Regions from separate parts of the Homo sapiens genome. Here all the other regions are linked to region 3. The links are contacts of gene promoters, found by promoter capture Hi-C in blood cells and fetal thymus (Javierre and others, 2016). All regions are on one chromosome and are shown on one strand. The core of a region is centred on a gene start or on the middle of the fragment in contact, and the rest is flanking DNA. Distances in the headings are between cores, read along the strand shown.

Evidence for each region. Contacts are between HindIII fragments. The CHiCAGO score rates a contact against its expected background, and 5 or more counts as called.
Region 1: a fragment that was not itself captured here is called in contact with the fragment with the promoter of PIGO in region 3 in 1 of 17 cell types (endothelial precursors); the score reaches 5.7 in endothelial precursors.
Region 2: a contact is called between a fragment that was not itself captured here and the fragment with the promoter of PIGO in region 3, in 1 of 17 cell types (endothelial precursors). The highest score is 7.6, in endothelial precursors.

Annotation. Positions count from the first base shown.
Region 1 is chr9:35,386,577-35,390,374 of GRCh38, forward strand. It overlaps UNC13B (unc-13 homolog B), which reads left to right. Exons shown (of 40, transcript NM_001371189.2): 25 at 3,270-3,397. Among named protein-coding and RNA genes, the nearest start is that of RUSC2, 100 kb to the right of the region's middle. The HindIII fragment of the contact is 1,702 bases long and covers 762-2,463 here.
Region 2 is chr9:35,444,331-35,448,069 of GRCh38, forward strand. It overlaps the pseudogene ATP8B5P. Among named protein-coding and RNA genes, the nearest start is that of RUSC2, 44 kb to the right of the region's middle. The HindIII fragment of the contact is 2,785 bases long and covers 1,041-3,739 here.
Region 3 is chr9:35,095,341-35,099,122 of GRCh38, forward strand. PIGO (phosphatidylinositol glycan anchor biosynthesis class O) reads right to left here and starts at 1,251. Exons shown (of 11, transcript NM_032634.4): 1 at 815-1,251; 2 at 1-226. The coding sequence starts at 225. It overlaps PIGO-AS1 (PIGO antisense RNA 1), which reads left to right and starts at 964. Exons shown (of 2, transcript NR_186491.1): 1 at 964-1,080; 2 at 2,420-2,804. RefSeq lists an enhancer at 918-1,257. The HindIII fragment of the contact is 7,045 bases long and covers 1-3,782 here.

The DNA of each region.
Region 1 (3,798 bases), core at 363-2,862, 290 kb after region 3:
TCTCAGTCCATCCCAGAGTCTTTTTTTCTCCCTCAAGTTTAACTTTATTCTGACTCTTGCAGACTCTTGTAAGTTCTGGGCTTCCTTCCTCTGAGATCTGAAGTGGTCTCTGAGCTGCTGGCTCCTGGAAGCTTTACTTTTCCCTCTAATTACTTCTCTCTGAAATGTGTGGTTCTTCTGGGTTGTATTCATCCACTGGCTATCAAGACTGACCCTATCCTTCTGTGAGGCTGAGCTACTTCACCTGTTTTAGCCTGGCACCCTAAGTCAGTACCTGGTGACTTAGTACATTTTCCCAGATCCTTCTAATAGTGTCCCCGATCCATGCTCCCAACTTATTTGAAAGCCAGAACTTACTTCTAGCTCCAATTACTCAATTACAGTTCCAATCTTAGGAGTTTCTTGCTGACCATACATTTGCAGAGTGGATTCCCTTCAGTCCAACAAATATTGAATGTTTGTTCTAGGCCAGGTCTGAGGAGAGCACAGTGCTCCTTCAGTAAGTTTGCAGTCTCATAAACATATATATAACTCTAATCAAAAGAGTCTGTTTGAAGGGCCTTGAAAAAGGGATAAGATTAAAGGAATTCCAAGGAGGAAGAGTCTTTTCGCACTCTTGATCAGATACCAGGAAAAGCTACATAAAACAAGGAACATTTGAGATAGACCTTAAAAGGCAGTGGGATTTGGACAACCAATGATGGCAGGACAACCTAAATGTCTTGGACATTTATCTTTAAGTAACTACATCCAATTTGTAAAGCTTCCTAGGAACACCCTCATAAAGACTAAGATCTTGTTCCTACTGCCTCTTCTCATTCCCAAGTGTACTTTCTGTGCCAGCCATGTATTTAAGGCTTCTTCCTTTTAAGGTTTCTAAAGCCTCCTGTTGATTCTGAAATCCATGGGAGGTTTTCCTGAGGCCTTTGTTTTACTTGATACATTCTAGGCTCCTCTGTCATCTGTCTATGAAGTCTCTGGTTGAGGAAAGACACTGTTCTCATAAACTATTCAGGGATACTCTTTAGCCTTTGTATTTTAGTATCTGCTTTTTACTTTCTCTCAATTTCATTTTTTCCTTATTCCATATTTACACTGGCATAAACTCTTGATGTCTTTTAAAATTTCCATCTGTTGACCTTCAGTCATTGGTTTATTCGTCCATTCATTTACTTAACAGAGCATTAGAGACATAAAGTTGAGTAAGAGACATTTCAGCCTTTGGGGATCTCATGGTTTAGTGGAGGTCAGGGCAAATTACTACATTTATTGTTTTTTTGTTGTTGTTATTTTGTTGTTACTATGTTTTATTGTAGTTGTAGTTTTCTGATACATCTACACCAAAGGTTCACAGAGGGTGCTGTGGGAGCCCAGACCAAGGATGTCAGGAAAATCTCTCAGAAGAGGCAAAGTTCAATCTGAATTTTGAGGAAGGAGTAGGAATTAACTAAAGAAAGGGGCTGGAGGGAAGGGGCATACCACAGAGAGAATAGAATGCTTGGAGGCACAGAATTATGTATGAGCTTGTTAATTTAAAGAAATATAAGCAGGCCGGGCGCAATGGCTCAAGCCTGTAATCCTAACACTTTGGGAAGCCGGGGCGGGTGGATCACTTGAGGTCAGGAGTTTGAAACTAGCCTGGCCAATATGGTGAAACCCTGTCTCTACTAAAAATACAAAAATTAGGCAGGCATGATGGTGGGTGCTTGGAATCCCAGCTACTTGGGAAGTTGAGGCAGGAGAATTGCTTGAACCCAGGAGGCAGAGGTTGCAGTGAGCTGAGATCGTGCTGCTGCACTCCAGCCTGGGCGACAGAGTGAGACTCCGTCTCAAAAAAAAAGACAAAATAAAAATAAGATAAAGAAGTATAGCAATTTAGGGTACTTACGGCATCCAGCTGTGGGATTCAGCTATCTGGGATCAAATCTTAGTTCTGCTCTTTAAAACTGCATGACTTTGGACAAGTCATGTAACCTTGCTGCCCTTCACTCTCCTCATCTGTAAATGAAGGTGATAATAATTTCTACTAAATGGAGTTGTTGTGAGGATTAGATAGGATAATGTGTGTAAAGGTCTTAGCAGAGTGTGCGGCACATAATAAGCAGTAAATAAGTGGTGGTGGTGTGGTAATAGCTGGAACAAAAAGAGTTGTAAGGTATGAGGTTGAGAGTCATATTCTGGAAGGTGTAAACTAAGGAATTTAAACTGTATTGAACGCCGTTGAAGGGCTTTAAGCAGAGGAGTAACACATTGAGATTTTCTTTGTAGAAAGATCACGATAGCTGCAAGGAGGAGGGATTGGATTGAAGATCAAAGACCAGTTCAGAAATCCTTGAATGATAAGAGCCTGAGCCAGGACAGTGACAGAAAAATAAAAGGAAGAGATGTATTTAAGTTATATTAAAGATTCTGTCCTGGTTTCTAGGAACTTCTTGATAATGCAGGCTTATTAAGGACTGTGGAAGCTTTCCAGTGACATATGACATCCCACATAAAGGCCCTGTTCCTGTCCTTCTGGGCAGCTCCACCTTCACCTTTGACTTAGTGGGAGATAATGTGTGTTCCACCCTCCCTGTGGTGACTCCTACTTCACTTTTCTGGGCTGTGAATATAGAGTGATTTCTCTTTACCTGAAAGTCACCATTGTATTCCCTTGCCTCTTCCCAAGTAAGGCCCTATCTTATCTAGTTAGGCAGATAGCTTCCTAGATGCAGTTCTTCCCCCTAATAACTTCAGGGGATCAAGGGAAGTCCTACTCCACTGAAAGGCTGAAATGCGCACCAGATCTGTTCAGTAGCTCCTGCAGAAGTTGAAAGAGCTTCTCAGAGCTGAGATGTGTATGTGTGTGGTCGTGGTGTGCTGTCAGTAGAGGAATACCACCAGAAGAGGAGGGCTGCCTGCCTGTAGGGGCCGCATAGAAGTAGACCTATTTAGTAAGGCTGGAGGGGCTGTTTCCTTTAGCCAGCGAGTTACTCTGCCCATAGCAACTGAGAGAAGGAAGGAGGATGGGCATCCTTATGTCTCTTGGACTGACCAAGTTTATCAGAGAGAACTTCTCAGCGATAGGCTCCCTGTGTTCAGGGATCTCACAATAGTCACTCTTACAGAACAGGGATAGTCTTGTGGAAGACAGGCTCTAGGAGAGGAAAGGTCCTTGATTCTAGAGGAAGAGGTATAGGAAGGGGAAGAGAAAGAGGATCGTTGGAGACACCCTCTACATTCTACTCTGACTCTTTCTCCCTCTCTCTCACTGTGTCCTCTGGATCAAGAAGCAGGAGCTACCTCCAGAGGAACAAGGGCCCAGCATTCGGAACCTGGATTTCTGGCCCAAGCTCATCACACTCATCGTGTCAATCATAGAGGAAGATAAGAATTCCTACACACCTGTTCTGAACCAGTGAGTATCACCCTCTTTGGCCCTGTCTGTTGGTGGTTGGTCTGTCCATCTGTCTAACAACCTCTTTCTTTCCTGTCTCTGTATGTTTGCAGTGCCACCTCTTCTTCCTGTCCATCCATCTGTCCCTCTGTCCCTTGTATCTGTCTGGGTAACTGTTTCTGGAGACAGGTGTGGAAACATAATGGGGGTCCCTGGCCAGATTGAGCCAGCTTCCCTGGAGTGAGAGACTTCTGGGACTGGGACTGCCATAGGAGCCCCAGGGGATCCAGAGACCATGTGTGTATGTGTCTGTCCACTGTGAATGAAGTGGGCCTTCTTATAGCCCACCCCCACTTGCCCTTTCTCCTCCAGCTTATTTAGCCTGCGCCTGCTTTCCAGCCTCTGCCTGGAGAGTCTCTACC
Region 2 (3,739 bases), core at 1,183-3,682, 350 kb after region 3:
GCAGAGCCTTGGGGAAATTCTCAGAGCAGATATTCAAGGGTCATTTTCTTACAGGATAAAGGAGGACAAATGGATGAATGTTCAAGTGGGAGATATAATAAAACTAGAAAATAATCAGCCTGTCATGGTGAGTACCTCTTTTGGCTGTGACTTGTTCTTTTTTGGATTGAGTGGGTACCAGGGACTCTTGGAGCACTTCTGCTACCACTCCTTTTGGTGACCTTTGTTGCCCATTTTGCATCAGAAATCAACAGCTCTTGCAGTAAGAAGCTTGTTCTTGCCTATTTCTCACTGTAGTTACAGGGAAAGTGTGAGTAGCTTTGGGAGAGGGTGTATGATAGCAGTGAAAGAAAGTAAATCAGTGTCTGTAAAATGCTTAGGTTGAACATCTGTTCCTAAGGTGACTGCTTTTGTCACACTGTAATGTTAACAGCCCACCTTCCTGCTTTCCTGACTTTTTTTGACTTTTCTGACTACAGGCAGATATACTATTACTCTCTAGCAGTGAGCCATATAGTCTGACATACATAGAGACAGCAGACCTGGATGGGTAAGTGTTCCCTCCTGATGCTCCATTAAGATGATTTAGCCAGCTTAGAGTGGTCTCTCACTGAGGGACAGCATTAGGCAGGGAATTAATTTTATTCTCAGATGGAATATTGAATAGGTGAGCCAGAGAGCCTAGAAATATCCAGATAAGAGAAGATGGACACCACATCGTTGGGACCCTCAAGTCTAAGACTGAGCTCTTGACAGGAACAATTGAGCATTCACTGGGCACAGAATAGGGCAAATAAACCCCACATTCTCCATCTCTAAATTGGAGACACTCTGGCCATATTCTATAAGGCTGAGTAGCAGGAAAGAGGATAACAGAACTGTAACATTTCAGAGTACAGTTTCAAAGTTTCCAAGGGAAAAAATGTGAATATAAACATATCTATTCACTGATAAAATACCATGTTCTATAAAGGATTTAAGGTAGACATTTATTAACATCCAAAAGCTAAGGTCTTAGGAGGATAGAGCCATCTGCAGAAAGCTTATCCTGGAGAGTTTTGTATTGATCTTCATTCCTACAACTGTACTTCTTGATGCACACAATTTTTTGAAACATGGATTCCATTTTTCTTTTTGTCTATGCATTCCAGCAAGCAGTTACTTAAGAGCCTGTCATGGGCCCCATAAATATTTATGAGGTGTGGAGTATGTTTCCTCGGAGGTATGTGCAAGTTTTTACCAGGATCTGCTCCTTATTCTTTTTTTAAAAAATTAAATTTAATTAAAAAAAATAGAGACAGGGTCTCGCTGTGTTGTCCAGGCTGGCCTTGAACTCCTGAGCTCAAGTGATCCTCCCGCCTTGGCCTTCCAAACTGCTAGGATCACAGGCGTGAGCAACCATGTCTGGCCATACTCCTTATTCTTTTTTTTTTTTTTTTTTTTTTTTTTTTTTGAGATGGAGTCTAGCTCTGTTCCCCAGGCTGGAGTACAGTGGTGCAGTCTCGGCTCACTGCAAGCTCCGCCTCCCAGGTTCATGCCATTCTCCTGCCTCAGCCTCCCTAGTAGCTGAGACTACAGGCGCCCACCACCACGCCCAGCTAATTTTTTGTATTTTTAGTAGAGACAGGGTTTCACTGTGTTAGCCAGGATGGTCTCGATCTCCTGACCTCGTGATCCGCCCACCTCGGCCTCCCAAAGTGCTGGGATTACAGGCATACTCCTTATTCTTGAAGGGAGCAGGTACTATCTCCAGGTTGTTTATGATGTTTCTTCAGCCTCTCTAGAGCACCTGACCAGCTAGATCTCATGAGTTGATTAAGTAGTGGCAGTGTGTTGCAGAGAGTGAGAGGAAAGAGACGGGAGTGAGTGAGCTAACACTCAGCTTCCTTGAAGAGCCATCTCACCTCAATACTGAGAGAGAAGCAGTGGGAGTGACTTTTACAGCTCAGACTCATAGCCCAGTCTCTACTGGTAACATCTATTTTCTAAAACCCCATGAAAAAGTAGGAGATACTGCACCCGTACAACAGTTCTGTTTGTGTCCTGTACAGTGGTCACTTGTCTTTTACTCTAGTGAAACCAACCTGAAAGTGAAGCAGGCCATCTCAGTTACCAGTGACATGGAAGATCGCCTGGAGCTTCTGTCTACCTTTAATGGTGAGTTAGGAAATGGGTTTTCCTACCTAAATTTTCATCAGTAGAGTACTGGTTAAATAAAGTATGGTACATCCATAGTGATTTCTATACAACTTATTACAACAATATGCAAGTTGATATTTATTGAAATATAAAAAATACAACATGTAATTAAAAGAAAAATACAATTTACAAAAGACTGCATAGTGTATATAACATAAACCTGTTTTTGGAAATATAGGTATGTTTATGAGTACTTACATAGAAAAAACATAGAAGGATGTACTTCAAAAGGTAAATAGCACTTTTCTCAAGACAGTGAATGAATTTTACTTCCTTCTTTACCATTTTAGTATTACTTAAACATTTACAAAGGGCATATTTACTTTACTAATCAGGAAAATGTCAAGTTGTTTCCATTTTGAAAAAAAATACTAGGTTCGCTTTGAGTCGTTTTTGAGTTTCTTCAGATTCAGAGCTCTTATGATCTGGCAGTACTGATGTCACCATCATGTGGGGTTTTCTCTCTCTCTGGATGATCCATGTCACATACAGAATTATTCTTCTTTAGTTCCCAGAAACCTTTGTCTGCCTTTCTTGAAGGAGCTGGTGAGAAATGGGCAGTAACTGAGAGAGGATAGGAAAAAGATGTGTATGTATTTTGAAAGAAGAATTTTATTTCCTCCTTTCTATTAAGTCTCCTTTCATCCTTAGGAAAAGCCTAAGATTAGAGATCCAGAACTCTTACACCTTCATTTTTCTGCAGGAGAAGTGAGATGTGAGGCTCCCAATAACAAATTGGACAAATTCTCAGGAATACTGACCTATAAGGGGAAAAACTACTTCCTGGACCATGACAAGCTGCTACTCTGAGGCTGCAACATCAGGAATACAGATTGGTGCTATGGCTTGGTGATCTACACTGGTACGTTTCCCTTGGCCCCCAGCCTGCTAAATTCCATTCATGGCTGAGCTATGGGTACTTAGTTTTCAGGATGTGGATATGACACTCAGATATATTTCAGAACACTATGGTTTTGAGATAGATAGGCAGGTAGAAGGATGGATGGATGGATGGATGGGAGATTTGTGGGAAAAAACCTTGTTTCTTAGGGAAAAAAAGTGCCTTCTGTTTCCAAGCAATGAACTTCCAACATATCGGTTCTACCTTTGTTAGAGGAAGGCATTGTGTTCCAAAACCACAGGGCATCCATGAGTCTCTTTAACAAGATCTGGACACAGGAGAGGGTATACATACAGAGGAAGTATGATAGAATTACCATGTGAAGGGGGAGAGTATACATATGAACTATTCCCATGAAGAGAGGATGGACACAATGCTTATTATAGAGAAAAATATAATGTAAAAAGTTCATGCCACAGAAAAGTCACATATGGATCATTAATAGTGGCCCCTCTTGAGATGTTATTTAGAACCACAATTCATTATATTTAGTAAGAGATTTTCTTGGGTTATGATGTGGTTCAGGAAAATGGAGGAAGCCTCTGTGCTGCCCCATTCTCTCAGTGACAACAACCATAGTAGGAAATATCAAGAAAGATTTACCACAGTGAATATTATTCAACTCAGATTCCCAGAGCT
Region 3 (3,782 bases), core at 1-2,500:
TATCAGCACCAACACAACCCGCGAAAATCGGGAAGCCATCCAGCAGGCCCCAGGTTTCCCTTGGCTCCCCCATGGCAGGGACCCAGGGCCTGGGGGCTCTTGGCAGCTGCTATGGTTGGTGAGCTCCAAACGGGTGAGCAGGAAGCCACTGGTGAAGAGGGCAATGCCAGCGTAGAAGAGGAAGCAGACCCAGGCCAGGAAGAGCAACACTGAGGCTTTCTGCATCCTGATAGGGGTGGGGAAGTAAATTCATTACTGTGGGGCAAAGAACCAGTGGATATTCTGGTCCCTGAATACAAGCCCAGCTAGAATCACTTCCTCCCGGAAACCTTCCTGGAGATAAACCATTTCACAGCCAACCCCTCGCAATATTACTCTCCTCCTATTTCCAGGCTGGGCATGGTGGCTCACGCCTGTAATCCCAGCACTTTGGGAGGCCGAGGCGGGCGGATCACCTGAGGTGAGGAGTTCGAGACCAGCCTGGCCAAAATGGCGAAACCCCGTCCCTACTAAAAATACAAAAATGGGTGGCGGGCACCTGTAGTCTCAGCTACTGGGGAGGCTGACGCAGGAGAATCGCTTGAATCGGGGAGGCGGAGGTTGCAGTGAGCCGAGATTGAACCACTGCACTAGAGTCTGGACAACAGAGGGAGACGCCGTTTCATGAGGTCCCACCCCAGATCTACTGAATCAGGATCTTCGAGGGGTAGAGCATAGGAACGTTCACATGTACAGGCAGGAAATGCTAATGCTGCCTGTACATGTGAACAGTCAGGAGGGAAACTTATTCCAATTGGTAGTCAGGCTCTCTTACACGCCGTTTCTGCGCCTCTCCCCTCGCCAATCTCAATACCCAGTGGAAAGGGATCGAAGCCGCAGGGGAATCCGGGCCCAGCCGACGGCGCCGCCTGGCGGGCACCGAGGGGACGAAGGGGAGGAGTCACTCTCCGCTTCCGGGCGGCCAGGTTCGCCAGGAGACCTGAGGCACGACCTTCGCCACGCAAGGAGGCTGGGGCCCGGGTCGAGAGTCGACTGGGCCTCCGCTGGGACCCAGGCGTGCGACCGGCTCTGCCTCCTCCGGTAACTACCCAGCCTCCCGCTGGGCACCCTAGCCGCGGTACTGAGCACCTTGGTTAGGAGCTGAGGGGAAGAGGGAGACTCCCTTACTTCAGGGTGAGGGGAATACCGGGGGGTGAGGTTCTCGGGAGACCCTGGCTCACCTGCAATGGCACCCGGAAGTGCGGCGGCGGCGGCGCCTGCGACCTGGCAGCACAGAGATGCGTGCGCCAGACAGAGTGGCCCGTCGGTGGCTCCATCGCCATCTGCCGGCACCTCGGTGGAAGTTTGGCCAGGAGCGTGGGGCTGGCCCCAGTTTGATGGGATATTTAGTAATTGAAAATTGGGGACAGGGGACCAAGCTGGAGGAAGAGTTCAGGGAACCACTGTCCATTCATGGTTACGACTAAGAGCACGGCTGCTGGAGTCAAACTTGACTTGAATCCTAGCTTGGCCGCACATATTGTCATCATTAGGCATTACCTCATCTGTAAAATGGAGATAATACTTATTTTCCCTTTTTTGCTTAGCTGAGTCCAACTGAGATTTCATTACTCCTCCTTTCAAAGCCTGTAACTAAATCTTACGACTGAATAATTAAGCAAATAATCCTTCGGAGTGGAGGAGGGGAGGCTGGGCCCAGTGGTTCACACCTGTAATCCCAGCACTTTGGGAGGTCAAGGCAGGTGGATCACCTAAGGTCAGGAGTTCAAGACCAGCCCGGCCAATATGACGAAACGCCGTCTCTACTGAAAATACAAAAGTTACCCGGGAGTGGTGGCGGGCGCCTGTGATCCCAGATACCTGGGAGGCTGAGGCAGGAGAATCACTCGAACCCAGGAGGCAGAGGTTGCAGTGAGCCGAGATTGCACCACTGCACTCCAGCCTGGGCAACAGAGCAAGACTCCCTCTCAAAAAAAAAAAAAAAAATGCCAGGCACGATGACTCACACCTGTAAGCCCAGCACTTTGGGAGGCTGAGGCTGGAGAATCAGTTGAAGTCAGGAATTGGAGACCAGCCTGGCCAACATGCTGAAACCCCAACTCTACTAAAAATTACAAAATTTAGCCAGGCGTGGCGATGTGTACCTGTAGTCCCAGCTACTGAGGAGGCTGAGACTGGACAATTGCTTGAAGCCAGGAGGCAGAGGCTACAGTGAGCTGAGATCGTGCTACTGCACTCCAGCCTAGGCAACAGAGCAAGACTCTGTCTCAAAAAGAAACAAAACCCGTCCACTGGTTTCTCATCTCAGAGTAAAAGTTCTTGCATTGGCTCTACATGGCCCTGCACACTATCTGCCTCTTCCCCTTCTGATTCATCTAGCTGCCACTTCTTTGCTTCCCTAACTCTGTTCCATCCACAGCAGTTCTGCCTCAGGACCTTTGCATTTGCCATCTCCTCTGTCAGCTTCAGTTCCCGATGCCGAAATGGATCTCCATCACCTTCATATTGAAGCTCAACTGTAACATCAGCAAGGCTTCCTGCAATCCCCTACTTTACTAGTTCAGCACCTCCCACCACCACACCCCCTGGAAAAATTTCCCCTCACTTCCTTAATTTCTTCCATAGCACAACTCATCAGCATCTGAAATTCTACACGTATTTATGGTTTATCCCCTCCGAGTAGAATGTGAGCTCATTGAGGTCAGGGAATTCTGTTTTCTTCATGATATCCTCAGCACCTAGCATATATTTGAGGTTCACATACTGACCAAACGAATAAAGGAATATGTTAATTTTTAAAAAAAGTTGAGTTATTCTTCCACCTTCATCCCCATAGCCCCTTATCTCAGTTCAGACCTCATCCCTTCTCCAGGATCACTGAGGCAGCCTTCTCACTGTCCTCCCAGCCTCCTGTGTCTCCCTACTATCCCTTCTCCACATTGCAGCAAGACAGCTCTAACTAAAACATTAATGTGATTACTGTTATTTTTTTCTTTTTTGTAGAGATAGGGTCTTACCATGTTGCCCAGGCTGGTCAACTCCTGGGCTCAAGTGATCCTCCCACCTCAGCCTCCCAAAGTGCTGGGATCACAGGTATGAGTCACTGTGCCTGGCCAATGTGATGTTTTATCTTAAAATTCTTCATGGGAAGGGAAAAAAACCCTTCATAGGCCGGGCACAGTGGCTCACGCCTGTAATCCCAGCACTTTGGGAGGCTCAGGCGGGCAGATCACGAGGTCTGGAGTTCGAGATCAGCCTGACCAACATGGTGAAACCCTGTCTCTACAAAAAACAAAAAAATTAGCCAGGTATGGTGGCGCATGCCTGTAATCCCAGCTACTAAGGAGGCTGAGGCAGGAGAATTGCTTGAACCCGGGAGGCGGAGGTTGCAGTGAGCCGAGATCATGCCATTGCACTCCAGCCTGGACAACAGAGGGAGACGCTGTCTCAAACAAACAAACAAAAAAACCCTATTACCCTAGGGATAATGTCCAACCCCTTCAACAAGAATCTCATTCCTTGTGACTTGGCCCTTGCCATGTAGTCACATCCCCCTTAACACTATACCCTTCAGCCAACTTCTCTCAAGCAGTGAGCCTTTGTTTATTCTAGTCCAGGACCTGACTTGGTGAAAACTTGCTAACTTTTCCAGCCTGAGTTCAGTGGCAATCAGCAACGCTGCTACTCATAAGCTGATATGCTCTTCCCACCAAGATCCCTCAGCCAGAACTTTCCTCTACCACAGCATTTATCACTTTTTTTTTTTTTTTTAACAGAGTGTC